Linked DNA regions of Homo sapiens: all the other regions are linked to region 4. The links are contacts of gene promoters, found by promoter capture Hi-C in blood cells and fetal thymus (Javierre and others, 2016). All regions are on one chromosome and are shown on one strand. Each heading gives the region's core, a stretch centred on a gene start or on the middle of the fragment in contact. The rest is flanking DNA. Distances are from core to core; before and after follow the strand shown.

Region 1 (2,700 bases), core at 141-2,640, 570 kb after region 4:
ATAGGAGGAATAAATTCCAGTGTTCTCTTACATAGTAGAGTGACTAAAGCTAATGACAATGTATTGTATATTTCCAGACAGCTAGAAAAGATCTTGAAAGCTATCACCACAAAGAAATGATAAACGTTCTAGGTGATGAATGTAACTAACCTGATTTGATCATTACACAACATATGCAAGTACCGAAACACCACACTGTACCCCACACACATGCACAATTATTATGTGTCAATTATAAACAACAACGACGAAAATCAAGGGCTATTAATACCAGTGTCAAGGCCAGGTGAGGTGGCTCATACCTGTAATCCCAGCGCTTTGGGAGGCCAGGGAGGGCAGATCACCTGAGGTCAGGAGTTCGAGAACGGCCTGGCTAACATGGTGAAACCCCGTCTCTACAAAAATGCAAAAATTAGCTGGGCATAATGGCGGGTGCCTGTAAACCCAGTTACTTGGGAGGCTGAGCAGGGAGAATCACTTGAACATGGGAGGTGGAAGTTGCAGTGAGAGGAGATTGCGCCATTGGACTCTAGCCTGGGTGACAGAGTGAGACTCCGTCTCAGAAAAAAAAAAAAAAAAAAAAACACCAGTGGCAAAACAACCTAAAGAAAAGCAAATTCCAGCTGGGCGCAGTGGCTCACACCTGTAATCCTAGCACTTTGGGAGGCAGAGGCAGGCCATCACCTGAGGTCAGGAGTTCAAGACCAGCCTGGTCAACATGATGAAACCCTGTCTCTACTAAAAACACAAAAAATTAGCCAGGCATGGTGGCGGGCGCCTGTAATCCCAGCTACTTGGGAGGCTGAGGCAGGAGAATGACTTGAACCCGGGAGGTAGAGGTTGCAGTGAGCCAAGATTGCACCACCGCACTCCAGCCTGACAGAGCGAGACTCCATCTCAAAAAAAAAGAAAGAAAAGCAAATTCTGCTGCAGACAGTGGGTATCGTGCAAATGAACAACAACTTCCTTTGCATGCTGTCACTGCTGGTATCATAGGTATTTGTTACATATTTAACACTTCATATTTGTACCACGCTACAATGGCAAGTGTGGCAAACACTTATCGCCCAGTATATAGTTTCCTTTCTCTTCTTAGTAATAAACTCTTGGTTTTTAGCTTGCTAATAAATGATCTAAGGCTTCCTGGTATAAAAACTACACTTCCCAGCCTCCTTTGCAGTTGGCCAGGCAACTAAGTAGGGGACAACGGGATGGATGTAGAACTGTGACTTTCAGGAAATGTCTTTAAAGACAGCAGGGGCCTGTCTTTGTCCTTCCTTTTTCTTCTTGGTGACAACGAACTTTACCTGAGCCCTGTGATCCTGGAAAAGAGGGAAGGTTAACAAATCCCTGCAGCCTCTGTGTACTGCAAAGAACTGCTCTTCTCCATAGGACTCAAATAAGACTCACCAATGCCCCCTTGTTTACATAGCACAAGGCCAGATACAAACTCTACAAATTCCCATTCTTTGTCTCACAAATGACTAGCAGACCTGCTGGGCCTCACTGATCAATCAGAACAAAGTGCTTGTTAACCAAACCACAAAGGCGGCAGAGCAGAGGGACAGGAGCCTGAGCTCCTGCGACTTGGTGATATCACCAACCAGGGACTGCCTACTTCCAAACTTTATTCATGTCCCAGAAAAATACACTTCTAGGCCGGGCACAGTAGCTCACACTTGTAATCCCAGCACTTTGGGAGGCCAAGGAGGGTGGATCACTTGAGGTCAGGAGTTCAAGACCAGCCTGGCCAAAATGGTGAAACCCCATCTCTACTAAAGATACAAAAATTAGCCAGGCGTGGTGGCACGCACCTGTAATCTCAGCTACTCAGGAGGCTGAGGCAGGAGAATTGCTTGAACCTGGGAGGCGGAGGTTGCAGTGAGCCGAGATGGCACCATTGCACTCCAGCCTGGGCAACAAAAGTAAAATTCCATCTCAAAAAAAAAAAGAGAGAGAGAGAGAAATAAACTTGTACATTATTTAAGATTCCATTATTTGAGGTTTTCTGTCACATGAAGCCAGTAGGAAGAAAAGCTAACCACAGAAGGGCCGGGCCCTGGCACAGGGATCTGTGGTCCAAGGTCCAGTTTCCTCGCCTCGGCCTGACAATTTCCACTAGATGACGCTGCCACCGCAGCTGAAGAAACACAACCGAACTCAACAAGTCGCAACTCAAGTCTTCAGTAGAAACATACAAATGACAAGAAACAAGGATATCATGAAGCATTTACCCTAGAGAAAAGAAGTGAAGTCTTCCCTCTAACATTCAGTCACAAGCAAATCTTAGATCTGTCCCAGCCACCACTAAGAGACGCCAATGGGCCTATTAAGTCTCAAGAGGAAAGAAGAAGCAAGAGTTTAGAGCTCTGCCATTATTACCTCGGCTTCACTGCTATCTGGAGGGAGGCAAATGTGAGTGATGTTCAGACCAGCCTGAAAAAGGAACACAAGGTTATTCGTCACTATAAGAGAATGTATTGTTAAAAGTTATAGTGAATTTTTTAAAAGCAGCAGTCCTCACCTCCTCAGCCAAATTCTGGTTGATTTCCTGCATCAAGTTGTCGTCACCTGCCTTAGGAAGGTAAAAACAACATAACAACATAAAAATAGCTTGAAAAGGCACAAAAGATAATCCAGAGATGAATTTTGTGATTACAGATGATCTAATTACAAAGATAATATGGAAGGTGCAGAAAA
Region 2 (2,700 bases), core at 88-2,587, 710 kb before region 4:
CGCTCACATCGAGTCAGAGCTGGCCAAGCCAATAGTCTACGATTCCTGTAACTCGGAAGAAATACAGAGAAAGCTTAATGAGCAGCAGGTAAGACTTAAAATGGAAATGGAATTAATAAGCCATGGAATATCTGTCCTCCTGGCCAGGATGATGGGGTGGGCATGAGATGGTGCCTGGAGATGGAAGGTCAGCAGGGAGCTAGGCAGGACTGGTGAGGAAGGGGGCTTTGCCTAGGCAGGCGATTGAGGCCAACAGGTTCCATGTCACTGCAGAGTTCAGCCTTACAAAGATGGTTGTGCCATTGTACAGTTAGTGTCATCCATCCACCAAGAAGCCTTCTAAGATGGTAGGTAAGGTGGAGTTGCAATTACGTATCTAAAACAGTGCTAACAGATTGGTTTATTTATTTGAGAGTCACTAGCCCTAGCCCACTACCATACACTTAGACAGGACTGAAAGGAGCCCCCCTGCCCCCGACTTTTTTTCCTGTGTATAGTGTTTGGGGAAAGATTACAAGGCATACTTAGAATTTTTCAAGTTGAAAAAATTTTGTTTTGCAAAAAGGATTGCATGACCTGCAGATCGCACACAGTAATTCCACTTTCATGTGTGTAGCAAAGACAGAATATCTCACTGGCGGCGTACAACCCAACAAAGCAAAAAGGGATGATCCTGGAAAATGTATACAGAAGAAATTTTCACCTCCCATTCCCTCCCTCATTTATTCTTTCTTTTTTTTTTTTTTTTTCCTGAGACAGAGTCTCACTCTGTTGCCCAGGCTGGAGTGTAGTAGTGCGATCTCAGCTCACTGCAACCTCCACTTCCCAGGTTTAAGCGATTCTCCTGCCTCAGCCTCCCAAGTAGCTGAGATTACAGGCATGCACCACCATGCCTGGCTAATTTTTGTATTGTTAATAGAGACGGAGTTTCGCCATGATGGCCAAGCTGGTCTCAAACTCCTGACCTCAAGTGATCTGCCCACCCTCGGCCTCACAAAGTGCTGGGATTACAGGCGTGAGCCACTGTGCCAGGCCCCCTCATTTATCCTTGCTAAGTATATCGGACTCCAGTTGCCAATAGCAAACACTGTAAATCCCCCGCTAGAGGTATTGTTACTCCATGCATTTAGGTTGCTTTGAATATTCTATCCACACTCTGGTTCTCTCCATTACATTTAGGCCATTGCAGCAAAGTTGCTTAATTTTAAAATGCTATAAAATGTAAATACCTCCTATTTTTAAAATCTTATAGTTTATGTACTTACTTCATTTTACAGACTATTTAAGCCAATGAAATAGGTGTCAAAATACAGTTTTGGGTGTTGAGGTTTTTTTAATATTAAAATTATCATTAAAATTTTTTTCTTTCTAATGAATATATAGTAATTGTACATATGTGTGGGGTACAACGTGGTGCTTCAATGCATATTTTCATAGTGTAATAATCAAACAAACTGAGGTAATTTGATTACCATATCTATCACTTTAAACATTTATCATTTCTTACAATACTCAAAATCTTCTCTTCTAGCTATCTTGAAACATACACTATATTCCATTGCTTTAAAAAAACTGTTAGCAAGACGTTTTTCAATTTTTATGAAATTAAAGTTTTCTGATGGGTGGTGATGTTTGAGATTCTGATGATTGAATTGTAGGGATCCTGGTTGGCATCCGGCTTCCCAGATTCTTCCAGAGAACATGGTAATGATGTCTATAGTGATGAGTTGAAATGCAAATGGCGGGTATCGTAATTTCACAAGTGTATGAAAATCAACAAAATATCTAGTTAAATATGGCAAATTGATCATATGTATTTATAGCCCCACCTACTACTAAAACCCCAATAAAATGATGGTAGAGAGGGAAAAAGGTTAAAACCACAATGGCAAAGAGAACAGGAGAGAAAATGGTAGAGATGACAGACATCCAACATAATTTTGCAAGATAGAAAGTGGATAGATCAGTGATGTTGTTAACAGAATGGAGGGTGGAGAAAGTTGATTCATGCCACAGAGTTCGAAGAAGGCTCAGAAAGTGGAGATCAGGTGAAGCTGAAAGTTGAGTTGCCTATTGAGCTGTAAAATGGAAGATTACTTGAAAATCTGAATAAGGTGTGCTGAGACTGGCAGATTCCTCCTAAGCCCAGCCAGCCAGGGAACTCTGCTTCCTTTACTCAGGTAGAAGATCAGATGATTACTCTCTGGAGAAAGCAAACCAGAGGGACTCTGGGTTTGGGGATCAGGACACCGTGGAGGCTAGAGTCACTATGTTAAAAATGGGGAGATGATGTGACTGGCTCAATACCAAATGCTAGGGCTCCCAGCCCGCTTCCCCAGCTTGGCTCCCACTATGTCAGTACCCAGGCTTACACCCTAGCCAGGAGATTGGAGCATCCTTTCTGGAGAACTGATCAGACAAGCAAAAAGTACCTTCAATTAGTGATACTTAAGGTAACCCAGAAAAGGCCAGACCCCTGCCTAACTCTCCACAGGGAAGCCTCCCAGTTGACATACTTTAGGTGCATACACAGCTTCTATAGCTGACTCATTCTTGAATATGTGTGGGTAGGCAAGAATCCTCACCACTTAAGAAAGCTTCTACCATTAAGAAAAAAAAATAAATAGAGGGAAATAAAGAAAGGAACAATCAGAGGAAACACATTGTAGAGAAAGAAAATGTAAACAAAACAAAACAAAC
Region 3 (2,700 bases), core at 149-2,648, 690 kb before region 4:
AAGCAGAGCTGTCCAAAACCAGCCACTGGCCAGTTGGGACTGTTGAGCTCTGAGATGGGACTGTGCAAATTGAGATGGGTTGTGCGTGGAAAACATGCTTACATGAATTTCAAAGACTTAGTACAAGAAAGAAAATAAAATATTAATAATTATATTGATTACATGTTATAATCCCTGTCTAATGTAGTGTTAAAATTAATTTTATAAGTTTCTTTTTACATTTCTAATGTGGCTATGAAACCTTTAAGATTACATATATAGTTCACATAGAAATATATGGGACAGCGCTGCTCTGGAGTCTGGGCTGAAATCTCAGTTCTGCCATGTACTTTCTGTTTAAACTTAGATAAGGAACCTAATTCCTCTGTGCCTCAGTTTTCTCATCTATAAAATGGGAATAACATTCCCAGGTACCCTATAGGGTTTCTATGTGATAAATTTGTGCTCAGACCAGAGCCTGGCTCATAAAAACACTCTCAGTCACTGTGAGTTCTTTTTTTTTTTTTTTTTTTTTTTTTTGAGACGAAGTCTAGTTCTGTTGCCCAGGCTGGAGTGCAGTGGCACAATCTCGGCTCACTGCAACCTCCACCTCCCGGGTTCAAGCGATCCTCCTGCCTCAGACTCCCATGTAGCTGGGATTACAGGTACCTGTCACCACACCTGGCTAATTTTTGTATTTTTAGTAGAGATGGGGTTCCACCATGTCGGCCAGGCTGGTCTCGAATTCCTGACCTCAGGTGATCCACCCGCCTTGGCCTCCCAAAGTGCTGGGATTACAGGCGTGAGCCACCATGCCCCACCCACTGTGAATTCTTATGATTCATTTCAGGAAAGCTTTGGTGAGCCTGCACGCTCCTCTGTGCGCTCAGGAGCTATGTGTCTAGAATAACTGACTTCCTTTTTTTCCCCTAGGAAAGTTATTTTCCTGCACAAGGGATTCAGGGTTTCCAGAACTTAGCTGTCAACTTAGACTGTGCTTTTTTTGCAGATGTAATGATCCCCGAAAGCCCTGAGGCCTATGTAAAACTCACAGAAAATGCAATCAAAAATACCTCCGGTAGGCACAACAAGCCGGAGCCAGCCTCCCTCCCTCCCCTGTATAGCAATCCTCCTCTCTTAGCACATCTGCTGTCTCTCTCCCAGCTTTGTGGCTCTAGCATGTTAAGGCACAGCCTTCCTCTCTTACTGCTGTACTAGAAAAAACAGCTGGTTAAATCCACACCAAGAATAAGATTTCACTAATTGAGCGAAATAAAGTAACTTCTCAACTTGTTAAATGGTGATTGGTCTCATTAGGTATAGACCTCTCATGTCCATTAACTGCAGAAAATATGAGAAGGAAAACCCAGTCATCAGCCTCTGCGCCCTAGTGTTCTACGTGGTGTGGTAATTTCAGCTTCACTGCATGCAGACCTACCTGTGGCTGGAGACTCAGGGTGCAGGCTCTGGTCCCAAGTCCGCCAGCCTGCATGAGTGACCTTTGGCCCATCCACCACTTTATCCTCCTCATCTCAAGAATCCCGTATGAGACAAGGGGTGAGATCAGATTTCAGCTCTAAAAAATATATGTAATTTTAATTTAAGAGGTCGTAAAAGATAATTTGAAATGAAAAATGTATTTCACGGTATGCTGAGCCATAGATAAGAACAGAACTATTCCTGAAACAAGAAGAATTAAAGAAAGAAAAATGGAACTAGTTTTGCTTAGTGTTGTGTTAGACAAACTGTAGTGCAGGAGTTCAGGATCAGTGATGTGGGATGTCGGCGGGGAATAGAGTTTGAACGCAGTGATATGATATTGAATCACGGAGTTACTAGTTTACGCTTCAGTTTTTGAAGAAAATCAAAAGGACAGAAAGCAAAGTAACATTACTGAGAGGGTGATTCCCAGGGAGGGACCTCTCCTAGGTGTATCTAGAAGGCCTTTTTTAGAAACAAATAAAAACATTTAATAAAGCTTACTAATATTTGTTCTGCTTTCACCCCATGCTAGCTTCACTGATGATCAAATGTTCCTGTGTAGTTCGAAGACTTTGACACACACACACACACACACACACACTCTCAGTAATTTTACAAAGAAATGTTACAACTTTGAGAGGAGAATGAGCCAGAATTCTAGGCTATGAGTAAGAACCTGCCTAGATGGAAATGTTAAAATCTTAGCTTTCTCCTGGTTTTGTTTCAGATCTTAGATAAAAAGCAAGTCGTTGCTAGTTTGATATCTCTGTATATATCTATTCTGAGGCACTCTTTTCTTGATTAATGAATTTATGCCTTCAGTAAATGATGCAGCAACCTGAGCCTTCCGTGACACTATCTTCCCCTGAGGTGCATGAAGAAAAATCAGAGGGAGGATCTTCCCCTGCTCACTAAGCGATAGCAGAAAGAACATGAGAAAAAGAACAGCTTTCTCCTTACTGAGATGCAGTAGACACCATTGCAGATTTTTAGAAAGGCCTTCCACACTGACAACATTCAGATGATCAGGGGTTCAGCTGGAAGAGGGTCAGGTGCACGAAGCTGTTCAAAACGGACTGGAGAGCCGTTTTGCGACGTCCGATCTGCTAGGGCTCTCAGTCAAGCACCTTCATTGGTTTGGCCATTTTAATGTCTAACCCACCGGCACGATGGTACTAAATTTGCTTTGTAATTACCCACACCTGCCATTTCTATGCTGCTGTAACTGAAATCATTTCT
Region 4 (2,700 bases), core at 8-2,507:
GTAAGTCCTTTTTTGAGATTTTACTTTAATTGGAAAGTATTACTGTTTTCCTAACTACTACATTTCCTGCACCTCTGGAACAAAGTCTCTGGCCAGGACTGGAGTGAGGCCAGAAGCCCTAGGGCGCAAAATTGAAGGAGATACTCTCTATACTTGCATGACCTGAAACAGTGACTGCCTCAATTTGGGGCCATTGGCGCCACTTTGTTGGCCTCAACCTACTTTCTGCCCAGGTTTATTTTCTTCAAAGTGTTCTCGTCTTTTGCAATATTTTGAAGTAAGGACAAATTTCAAATATAAATTTGGCCATTCGATTTATGCAAATGGATGTTATTTGCACGGTCACCCACAACTTTACCCAAGAATCAGTAGCGTGACGACTATAAAGCAAAAAACTAGACAGTTCTTACTGTGAGATTACGATTTGATCAACAACAGGGAGAAACCCGTTTCTTAATAGCGCTGAGATCCCCAACTCTTACGCAGAATTTTAACGCCCCCAAAGCGCGTCTATTAAAGTGAATAAATAAAAAGTGACCGCCAGGAACAGACCGCGAAGCTGACCCCTGTCCTGATCCTTACGAGCAGCCGCCGCGGGCAGGCTCCCTCCCCGGGGCCGCCTCCCTTCGCCTCCGAGCCAGTCCGCGAAACCCGCAAAGGCGCCCCGGAAAGCCGCGCCCGGCGGCGGGACTCGAACGCAGCCCACCGGGGAGCGGGCGCCCTCCGCTTAGTCCCCACAGGCTCCCGGCGAGGCCCGGCTTTCCGCAAAAGTGGGGAGGAGAAAAGCTAGACTAACCCCACGTCCTGTCCTGAGAGAGACGCCGGGACGACAGCCATCACTTTCCGCGATCCCGGCCGCAAAGCTCGGCTGTTCAATCGCCGCAGAAACAGAGGCGGTACCGCCGCGAAGGAGGAGCTGAGAATGGGGGTGGTGTGGCTTTAAAAAAAAAGTGCTTTTGAATAAAGAAACTTTATTTGGTGCCCGATCAAACGGCAAACAGTGGCTCGCCAGAAGACCCAATCTTCCGGGGACGAAGGCGGGGCCAGCGGAGGGCGACTAGAGGAGCGGATATGGAAGCGAGCGAAAGCCGGAAGCAGGCAAGGGACCGGGAGGTCCCAGGGCCTAGGGAGCGGAAGAGGTCGCGGCGACGCGGCTCACGTGGTCAGACAGTCACGTGGCCCGAGTTTCTCCCGCTAAGTGGGACCAGAGTTCAGTGCGGCTGCGCAGTAGCGGGGGTGGGCGGGAGCGCCCTTCCAGGAGATGGGTTGGCTGCAGTAGTGAGAGGCTGGGGGTGCGGCTCTTTCCCTGCAGTCCTGCCGAGGAAGCGTGCGTCCCTGGCGCTTCCTTCTTCTCTTCCGGCGGAGAGGTTAGTGTATTGCCTTTTCTTTAGCAGCTCGAGTGGTCCGGCTTGGAGGTCTGCGCCCTGGCTCCTGGCCGCCCGGAACGTGTACAGTTACGGGTTACGCCAGTGCGGCTGTGACCCTTTGCCTCTTACCGTGATCTTTGGTCAGCTTAGCTGGGAGTAAAAAGCACTCAATTAATGAACCCTTTTTTTGAGCCAGTGCACCGCGGTAACTGTAGAAATCGATAAAATAATTTTGAGTTTGAGGAATTGAACGGCATACTCCCAAAGATGAGCGCCACTTAGCTCTCGAATCGTAGCCTAGCTGTAATCGATTTTCTTAATTGGTGTAATTGTTCTCTAAAAGTTGAAATGTGCCCGGGAACTGAGTAACTGCCTTGTATTTCATTTTAAAAATTCGATCGAATGCCTACTATGTGCTGGGCGCTATTGTCAGGAGATATAATAGGAAAAAACACAAATCCGTATCCTCAGGGAGCTTCCATTCTGGAAGGAAGACACAAAAATCTGCCCTTTCCTCTTATTTTTTTCCTTTAGCTTTGTGTCTCACGTATTTTACTGATTTACCTCGTTTTGTCTGTCACTCCCAATGCAAGGTTCAAAAGATTCAAAAGATAGGATTTTTGTCTATTTTATTTTCAGCTGTATTGTCAGCAACTAGGACAATACCTGGCACATGATAAGAACTGAGTTCGTTTGCAGTATGAATTAATAAACTAAAAATTAAAGGTGTGCAAGTGATGTTAAACAATGGAGAAATGCAAAGTGGAGGAAGATAAGAGAATGGATGCTGGTTGTGTTTTTTTTTTTTTTTTTTTTTATTGATCATTCTTGGGTGTTTCTCGCAGAGGGGGATTTGGCAGGGTCATAGGACAATAGTGGAGGGAAGGTCAGCAGATAAACAAGTGCACAAAGGTCTCTGGTTTTCCTAGGCAGAGGACCCTGCGGCCTTCCGCAGTGTTTGTGTCCCTGGGTACTTGAGATTAGGGAGTGGTGATGACTCTTAACCAGCACGCTGCCTTCAAGCATCTGTTTAACAAAGCACATCTTGCACCGCCCTTAATCCATTCAACTCTGAGTGGACACAGCACATGTTTCAGAGAGCACAGGGTTGGGGGTAAGGTCACCGATTAGCAGGATCCCAAGGCAGAAGAATTTTTCTTAGTATGGAACAAAATGAAAAGTCTCCCATGTCTACTTCTTTCTACACAGACACGGCAACCATCCGATTTCTCAATCTTTTCCCCCCCTTTCCCCCCTTTCTATTACACAAAACCGCCATTGTCATCCCGTCCCGTTCTCAATGAGCTGTTGAGTACACCTCCCAGACGGGGTG
Region 5 (2,719 bases), core at 64-2,563, 530 kb after region 4:
CTTCTGTTTTCTGAATTTTTAGAATATTTCTACAATGAAACTACATTCTTTTTATAACCAGAAAAAGAAATAAAGAAAAAAGCACTTACATTAATAATTAAATACGTAAAAACAAAGTTACCTAGGAGTCAATTCCAATTACAAGAAATGTCTCTGCCTGACAAATAGGTTTTGTGCCTGAAGCTTTGTATACATCATAAGCAATAGTCACTGAAATGAAATTTCAAGGCAGCAAAGGAATTTATATGGTCTCATGATGTTCCCTCAGGTCACACTGAATAAATATTTGAAATCCCTTGCTTTCTATCATCTTTTCAGCTAGTGAATGTACTTCTTTTTTTAAAAAGAAGGGGAAAAAGGCAAACACTCCTTTTCACAAAAACTATGAATTTGTCTTTTATAAAATAACCAACACAAATGAAAATGGCCCAACATTAGTTTTGAAATGCAGAAAAAGGGAAATAATGAGCTTTTGAAATGTGAATATGTAGGTAAGATCAAGGATATTAACAGGAAAACATGTTTCATATGATTATCTGTACCTTTTCCACGAAAATATTTCAAGTAGAACGCACAAAACAAACTGCTCAGTTCAAAATAGTTTACTTTCAATTCCTATTTTGATTTTTATAATGAAAAATGAAATTCAAAAAGTCAAGGAGGAGCAGGGGTAATAACAACATAATATGAGAAACAAAAGATAAAGCACTGCAACTTGTTTGACTTTATCTTGTGTAGAGTCGACTAGTTTGCTCTGCACTGAAAATAAAAACTTATCTCACACCAAATAAAGAAATGCCAAATGAAATGGACGAAATGTCAAATGTGAGAATAGGATGGATTGAGGGGTACGAGGAGAGAGATAAATAGGGAAGAGTTTTGTAAATATGTCTGCTTGATCAAGTAGATGTTAGATGGTGTCTTACCCAGCAACTAAGACGTATTTTCCATCTGCTTGATCCTTTAACCTTTCTAGCACGGACAAACGTACTTTGGCTTTGCTTTTGCCATAGATTTCAATTTCATCTGCAAGCAATCCAATCTCCTTGGCAAGGACATCCACAGCTTTTGGAGTTTGTCCTCTTGAAATCTCAATGTCACTGAGGGGAAAGACAATACGAAAGAGAGAAAAGGCTTCTCAGCTTAGGTGGTCACAACTGGAGTGAAAACAGCCACACATCACGCCAACGATGAAATCAATGCAATTACTTTGGGGTCCTTTCTCCCAGGCAGTAATAAGCACAACTGCTAATAATTAACGTGTATGAGAAAATGGTGTATCATTTTAGAAATGCAACTCCAAAAAACTCACAAAGATCCTAGAATTGTGTCCAGGTGGAAGTATAACACCTATGGCATAGAGACAAGAACAGCATATTATAATGTGTCCAAAACCCTCCTGCAAGTGTGATTCGACTACAGAGCAAAATGCTCTGTATGGGCCATCATGGTATTCATTAGCGATGAATAGAGGGTCATTGCATAATAATCTCCGATCGGGCTGGCCACATGTTTCTCTTGGCTATTCAAAAATGTGAACATTACTATCACATTAGAGATTAAGTACAAAAAAAAAGAAAAAATGTGGAAATGCTATTTCGTTTTATCTGTGTCCACACTTCCCCCTCTCTATTTACAGTCTAAAATCATATTTCAAAATGTTTTATTAATTACATAACTGTCGGTAAAAGGACCTAGTGCCCTGAGCCCAAGTTCAGACAGGAAATTGTAGGAACTCCAGAGAGTCATTGGGCACGTAACTGAACTCTTCTATTTTACTGGCCACCACTGCTCGTCTTACAGGAGTGGTCTGGATACCAGCATGTGTAATGCTGGACTCTTTCCTCTGGGGCTCATGTGCTCAGTCATTTCTTTGCTGGGCAGTCAGGCCCTTCATGTGTCTGAGAGTGAGAGATGGAAGGCACACCTGTTCCCCCAGCAGCAAGACTAACCCCGGGAGACCACGCGGCGGGGGACTACCCTTAAAGGTTGCATCAGAGAGGACAGCTATTCCTTCACTCACCCCAGAACACTTATTTTTGTTGTGGTCTGCCTCCTTGCGGTGGGCAGATCAACCCCCTCAGTGGACTTTAGTCAGCCCCTTGGCCCTGACTGTTTCTGTAGCTACTGCAGGTAATCTACCCTCAGTGTTCAGACCACCCTAGACTCTCCTCCAGGATCCTGTAGGGGCCTGACCCGGGGGTAAGAGGCAACAGCAAACACACCTCCACCCAGACTTCTCCAAAGGGCACCAGAGAAACTAGGAGTTCAGGTTACCCCCCTCAAGTACCGCTGAGTATTCCTTTCCAGGCCTCCACCTATCCGACCTTTCCTTTCTAGCCTCCTACTTTGTTTTGCCTTCCTGGCCATAGTTTTTTTCTGTCTCTCTCTTCCCACAATCTCCTAAATTGAAGAGCTTAATCTTGAACAATGTGTAAGCTTTTGGCAGGCTGCAGAGGCTCACGCCTGTAATCCCAGCACTTTGGGAGGCCAAGGCGGGAGGATCACTTGAGTCCATGAGTTTGAGACCAGCCTGGCCAACATAGCAAAATCCCGTCTCTACTAAAAATACAAACAAATTAGCCAGGTGTGGTGGTGGCACCTGTAGTCCCAGCTACTCGGGAGGCCGAGGCAGGACAATCACTTGAACCTGGGAGGCGGAGGTTGAGGTGAGCTGAGATTGCACCACTGCACTCCAGCCTGGGCAACAGAATAAGAC
Region 6 (2,700 bases), core at 173-2,672, 590 kb after region 4:
AGGCACATAGGCCCAGTAAGCATAATTAGCTGCAGCTGCTCCTGCAGACATGGGAAGACTTATCACCGTTGATACAATCATCAAAGCTGCAAGCAGCATATTCTCTGGAGTTTGTGTCACCTTTGTGAATGTACTTAATGCCACTGAACTGTATATTTAAAAATGGTTAAGATGGTAAATTTTATGTGCATTTTACCACCATCTTAAAAGTCAAGAAGGAGGTGAAGAAACAGCTCAAATTGGTGATCTAAGTTTGCTAGAGTCAATTACTATCATTTACAACAAAGCACTCTGTTGTGTACAGTGGTTAAAGTGAATGCAGGTGAAGGTCACTGGCCATGAGCAAGTCAAGAAAATAAAGGGCTGGATGTTGAGAAGGTCATCCATCGAAATATCCATCAAATAGGGATTTTCTAGATATTTTCAAGGTGGTGGTAGTATATAGGGGTGGAGAGTATAGGATGATAAGGAGACTGATTCTGAGGTGTGGGCTCACCTTCACTGAATGAGGCCAATTGGTAAGAAGGTCAATGGATGATAGGAGTCAGGTGACACAAAGATTTGCATTCCAGGCTGGGCACAGTGGCTCATGCCTGTAATCCCAGCACTTTGGGAGGCTGAGGAGGGCGAATCACCTGAGGTCAGAAGTTAGAAACCAGCCTGACCAACATGGTGGAACACCGTCTCTACTAACAATTCAAAAATTAGCTGGGCATCGTGGCATCTGCCTGTAATCCCAGCTACTGGGGAGACTGAGGCAGGAGATTCACTTGAACCTGGGAGACAGAGGTTGCAGTGAGTCGAGATTGCGCCATTGCACTCCAGCCTGGACAACAAGAGCGAAACTCCATCTAAAAAAAAAAAAAAAAAATTGCATTCCAAATAGCCACCATGCAATAGTTCATTCATTCATGAGGGCAGAGAAGGAATGGTCTCCAGCCACAGCATGGATCCATGAAGCACTGACTCCACCTCTCGAACTTGAGGTGTTGGATTGTGGGAGAATGAATAGCCTTCCTTTAAGAGATCCCCAGGAGAAACATCCTTAAGGAAGAGCTAAGTGTTAGTTTAAAAAAGAAATGAATTGGCCGGGCGCGGTGGCTCACGCCTGTAACCCCAGTACTTTGGGAGGCCGAGGTGGGCGGATCACAAGGTCAGACTGAGATCATCCTGGCCAACGTGGTGAAACCTCGTCTCTACTAAAAATACAAAAATTAGCTGGGCGTGGTGGCACGAGCCTGTAATCCCAGCTACTCGGGAGGCTGAGGCAGGAGAATTGCTTGAACCAGGGAGTTGGAGGTTGCAGTCAGCCAAGATCACACCACTGAATTCCAGCCTGGCGACAGCGAAACTCCATCTCAAAAAAAAAAAAAAAAAGAATGGAGGGAACTGCTTCCATTAAAATATAGGGAATGTAGAGGAGTTCAACATGGAACTTAAAGTGACCCAGAGCACGCAGACAGAAGATGTGGGAAGAACAGCAGCAGTGAGAAGGTGGGTCAGGAGGGAGACTAACCAGGAAGGATGGTCAGAGGAGCAGCAACCCGGGGTAACAGCTTGAAGCCTGGTGGTTTATGTGGCTCCCAAAATGCCAAAGAGACAGACCCAGCAAATACTGGAAGGCTACAAATGTAGACAGGACACTTGGATAAAACAAGGGTCAACACAGTTTGCACTTCTATGGGAGTTTGTTCCATGAAAGGGCTGTATTTACACAGCAACCCCCAAATGCAGAAGGAGCCTGGAAACCAAAGGAGGCAGAGAAATCCAATGTGTGGTTCTGGGTGATTTATTAGGGAAATTTACAAACAGAAACGTGGTCTTGGGCGGCTACAAGATAGGTAGATCTCTGCACCACAACCCCCTAGACCCAGGGCTTATATCTTGGGGAAAAATATACGTGTTCTAGAAGGAATGTGTAGGTGGCTACCAGCGTCACAGCCTATGATTTCTGCAACAGCAACGAGGGTTGTTTTGAAGGAAACTTACAGTAAATGGGTGTTTCTACATAAATAATAATACATCAACTCAACATTTTGGAGGCATTCCCAGACTTGGGATTAGTCAGTGGATTGGTATTTAAAGTAAATTCACTCTTGTCCCCACCAAGAGTTTTCCTCTTCAATGAATGAGGAGGCTTTGTGTAGAAAGCAAAAGTTCCTCTTCAAATCCCTTTAAATCATAAATGTTATTGATATCTTTTCTCAAAACTAACTTTAAGTTTCTTATTTTATAGTAATAACTCTCTGTTAAGCCTTATGTAGCAAAGGTAACAGAATAAGCATACTCTGACTTCAGTATCTGTTAAACATGCTCACAGGCATGTAGTACATTCTATGTCCTTGTACCTTAGTCAGAATATTCGTGCTGGACATGCCCAGGCATGTCCCAGCTTGCAGCCTACCCTCCTCCCTTATTTGGGAATATTATTACTTTTCTAAGTCCTTTCATAAGCAACTTCCTTTTTTTCCTTTGTTCCTCACTGCCTTTACCTATTTTAAAAAGTTTTGAACTGTTAGCCAATCGGGTTTTAGTTTAGATTGTGAGGTCTGGCTCCAGCCAATGGAGTCAGGACACAGCAATAGGGACCTCATGTGTAAGGCAAAACTATTCTAGTATCTTTTTTACTTTGTGGGTACTCCTGGCAGGATTGCTGACAGGCACCACCCTTTCTGCAAAGAGTAAAAAGAGTTTCCTGTT
Region 7 (2,704 bases), core at 197-2,696, 550 kb after region 4:
AAAGGGAGGACAGATGAGATTTGGAAAGTTATACAGAATATTATAATTTTGTATTTAGCAAATAAAATGCATTAAAATGTTTTAAACTAAATACAGCGCTACCCTCTTGACTAGAAGACAGTATGTATCTTCTGCTATCAATGTGTTTTGAAACAGTTCATATCATATGAGAATCTGAGGTATGAGATCTGTATATATTTCAAAATCCAGAATGGGTAAAAAAAAAAAGATATTTTCTAAAGAATTGTGGTTTATATCACTTGAGACCTATGAAAACTGTTTCTATGTCCTTCAAATGTTACCAACACAGTTCAGAAAACCAAGTTAAATTCCTCATGAGGGTCAGCTGAATAAAAAAGAAAGAAAACAATGTTCAAAATGATGAACATTACTTTAAAAAATTAACAGGTAGGTTCTTTGTCCAGCAAGGATGTGCTTCTGAAATTACAATAACTAAAGACATTGGCATTCTCAACTAGTGCCTGAGTGATGGCCAGTCAATGGTCAGACACAGAGAACAGAGCAGGGTCTGGAGGGCAGGGAGGGGGCTCTACCACACTGAGGTGGTCCCTTGCTTGATTTTCACTCTCAATGAACTGGGACACACTGTAGTTTATGTAGTTTATGTGCGCCCAGTTAAGTGGCTTTATGGGTTACATTATGCTCCACGGCAGATTCTTCACAAGGCTTTATTTAATTAATTTATTTATTTTTGGAGACGGGGTCTCACTCTGTCCTCTAGGCTGGAATGCAGTGGCACTGCAGTCTCAGCTCACTGCAGCCCTGACTTCTGGGCTTAAGCGATCCTCCTACCTCAGCCTCTAAGTAGCTGGGACTATAGATGTGCTTCACCATGCTCAGTTCATTTTGTTTTTTAAATATTTTTTGTAGAGACAGGGTTTCACCATGTTGCCCAGGCTGGTCTTGAATTCCTGGGCTCAAGTGATCTGCCCGCCTGGGCCTTCCAAAGTGTTGGGATTACAGGCGTGAGCCACTGTGCCACATGCTTTATGATCAGACAGGGCATGTCCATGAAAATCTTAGGTAGTAAGGGGACTCCTAGACTACCTTGTGGCAAAGTTTCTATAAAGAGTTAGATGTCACTTTTCTAAGAAAAACATCACTTTTCTCAGATGTCAAAATGTGTGCACTTTTTCTTTTCTTTTCTTTTTTTTTTTTGAGACGAGTCTCACTCTGTCGTCCAGGCTGGAGTGCAGTGGCGCGATCCCGGCTCACTGCAAGCTCCGCCTCCTGGGTTCATGCCATTCTCCTGCCTCAGCCTCCCGAGTAGCTGGGACTACAGGCACCTGCCACCATGCCCGGCTAATTTTTTGTATTTTCAGTAGAGACAGGGTTTCACCATGTTATCCAGGATGGTCTCGATCTCCTGACCTCGTGATCTGCCCGCCTCAGCCTCCCAAAGAGCTGGGATTACAGGCGTGAGCCACCGCGCCCGGCCGCACTTTTTCTTAATATAGAAAAGAAGCTGTCAGGTTGGGCTACAGTATGTGGCTCACACAGTCAGATGTGTTTTAGGAAGATTCCTCTGGAAGCTGGATTGAGAATGCCTTAGAAGGGGTAGGAGGAAAAGCAAGATACTGAGATCTCCTGGAGGAGGCGTCTGCAGGAAGCTGGGGGCCCGGGTCTGGAACTGAGAATGGCCTGGGAGCATGCGGATGCGGGTCGGGACACACAGCATTTAGGTGATGGTTAAAACCAGAAGTGTGGATTCCCCAGGGGAAACTGGCAGAATGGGAAGGAAAGCAGGTTAACAGACATCCTTGGGGAGCACTAATCTTAAATGGTTAGAGATAACGAACAGATGATGGAGACCACCATGTCCTGGTGGCTCAGGAGCTACGAAGGGCAGGAAGGGGCATTTTCATTCAGGCTAAGGGAAAAGGGTGTGGCCAACAGGTTTATATGACAGCTGTGGTCAAGCAAGATAAAAGCAAAAAATACACTTTTGGCAATTAGGAACTACCGGTGACTCACTTTTGGCAATTAGGAACTACTGGTGACTTTGCTACAGAAATGGGCATTAGGAACCATGCCTAATACAGTCCTGCCATTACTGTAGACTGTGTTGCCTGCAAATGGAGATTTCATTCAGGCAGACTGTTTCATAAGCAGATGCCTTGTTTATTCATTTATATATATAAAAATATAAATATATAATATATAATATAATATAAAAAATATATATATATCTATTTTTTTTTGAGATGGAATCTCACTCTGTGGCCCAGGCTGGAGTGCAGTGGTGCAATCTCAGCTCGCTGCAACCTCTGCCTCCTGGGTTCAACGATTCTCCTGTCTCAGCCTCCTGAGTAGCTAGGATTACAGGCGCATGCCACCACACCCAGCTAATTTTTGTATTTTTAGTAGAGATGGAGTTTCCCCATGTTGGTCAGGCTGGTCTCACACTCCTGACCTCATGATCCGCCTGCCTCGGCCTCCCAAAGTGCTGGGATTACAGGCGTGAGCCACTGCACCCAGCCTATGCATTAATTTTTTTTAACTCTGAATGTCTAACTTTGTATTTGAAATTAAATGAACATTGATCATAAGAGTATTGCTTTGTAGCTATGAATCTGTATCTACCTTTCCCCTGCAGTATTAAAACATATCATTAAATAGGAATGTTAAAATAATAGTATAACTACTCTAAACTAAGAACATCAAACCATCTTCATTCAGATGT

The links. Contacts are between HindIII fragments. The CHiCAGO score rates a contact against its expected background, and 5 or more counts as called.
Region 1: a fragment that was not itself captured here is called in contact with the fragment with the promoter of RMND1 in region 4 in 1 of 17 cell types (activated CD4 T cells); the score reaches 7.3 in activated CD4 T cells.
Region 2: a contact is called between a fragment that was not itself captured here and the fragment with the promoter of RMND1 in region 4, in 6 of 17 cell types (total CD4 T cells, naive CD4 T cells, activated CD4 T cells and 3 more). The highest score is 8.6, in total CD4 T cells.
Region 3: a fragment that was not itself captured here is called in contact with the fragment with the promoter of RMND1 in region 4 in 1 of 17 cell types (naive CD4 T cells); the score reaches 5.1 in naive CD4 T cells.
Region 5: a fragment that was not itself captured here is called in contact with the fragment with the promoter of RMND1 in region 4 in 1 of 17 cell types (total B cells); the score reaches 6.5 in total B cells.
Region 6: a contact is called between a fragment that was not itself captured here and the fragment with the promoter of RMND1 in region 4, in 1 of 17 cell types (fetal thymus). The highest score is 7.3, in fetal thymus.
Region 7: a fragment that was not itself captured here is called in contact with the fragment with the promoter of RMND1 in region 4 in 1 of 17 cell types (total B cells); the score reaches 6.0 in total B cells.

The regions. Positions count from the first base shown.
Region 1 is chr6:150,877,509-150,880,208 of GRCh38, reverse strand. MTHFD1L (methylenetetrahydrofolate dehydrogenase (NADP+ dependent) 1 like) reads right to left here. Exons shown (of 28, transcript NM_015440.5): 3 at 2,525-2,575; 4 at 2,383-2,436. Among named protein-coding and RNA genes, the nearest start is that of MTHFD1L, 13 kb to the right of the region's middle. The HindIII fragment of the contact is 6,066 bases long and covers 1-2,700 here.
Region 2 is chr6:152,161,551-152,164,250 of GRCh38, reverse strand. SYNE1 (spectrin repeat containing nuclear envelope protein 1) reads left to right here. Exons shown (of 146, transcript NM_182961.4): 131 at 1-88. Among named protein-coding and RNA genes, the nearest start is that of SYNE1-AS1, 220 kb to the left of the region's middle. The HindIII fragment of the contact is 2,524 bases long and covers 76-2,599 here.
Region 3 is chr6:152,143,844-152,146,543 of GRCh38, reverse strand. The region is part of intron 137 of SYNE1 (spectrin repeat containing nuclear envelope protein 1); the gene reads left to right. Among named protein-coding and RNA genes, the nearest start is that of SYNE1-AS1, 240 kb to the left of the region's middle. The HindIII fragment of the contact is 1,123 bases long and covers 837-1,959 here.
Region 4 is chr6:151,450,683-151,453,382 of GRCh38, reverse strand. It overlaps RMND1 (required for meiotic nuclear division 1 homolog), which reads left to right and starts at 1,257. Exons shown (of 12, transcript NM_017909.4): 1 at 1,257-1,367. DCPH1 (damage control phosphatase 1) reads right to left here and starts at 917. Exons shown (of 5, transcript NM_024573.3): 1 at 797-917. The coding sequence starts at 837. RefSeq lists a silencer at 560-679 and enhancers at 840-1,289, 1,480-1,529. The HindIII fragment of the contact is 8,083 bases long and covers 1-2,700 here.
Region 5 is chr6:150,924,503-150,927,221 of GRCh38, reverse strand. It overlaps MTHFD1L (methylenetetrahydrofolate dehydrogenase (NADP+ dependent) 1 like), which reads right to left. Exons shown (of 28, transcript NM_015440.5): 11 at 927-1,100. Among named protein-coding and RNA genes, the nearest start is that of MTHFD1L, 60 kb to the right of the region's middle. The HindIII fragment of the contact is 2,256 bases long and covers 186-2,441 here.
Region 6 is chr6:150,857,036-150,859,735 of GRCh38, reverse strand. It overlaps LOC124901431 (a long non-coding RNA gene), which reads right to left. Exons shown (of 2, transcript XR_007059812.1): 2 at 1,774-2,700. Among named protein-coding and RNA genes, the nearest start is that of MTHFD1L, 7.3 kb to the left of the region's middle. RefSeq lists an enhancer at 1,998-2,700. The HindIII fragment of the contact is 4,238 bases long and covers 1-2,700 here.
Region 7 is chr6:150,899,489-150,902,192 of GRCh38, reverse strand. All of the region lies in intron 7 of MTHFD1L (methylenetetrahydrofolate dehydrogenase (NADP+ dependent) 1 like), which reads right to left. Among named protein-coding and RNA genes, the nearest start is that of MTHFD1L, 35 kb to the right of the region's middle. The HindIII fragment of the contact is 3,392 bases long and covers 1-2,704 here.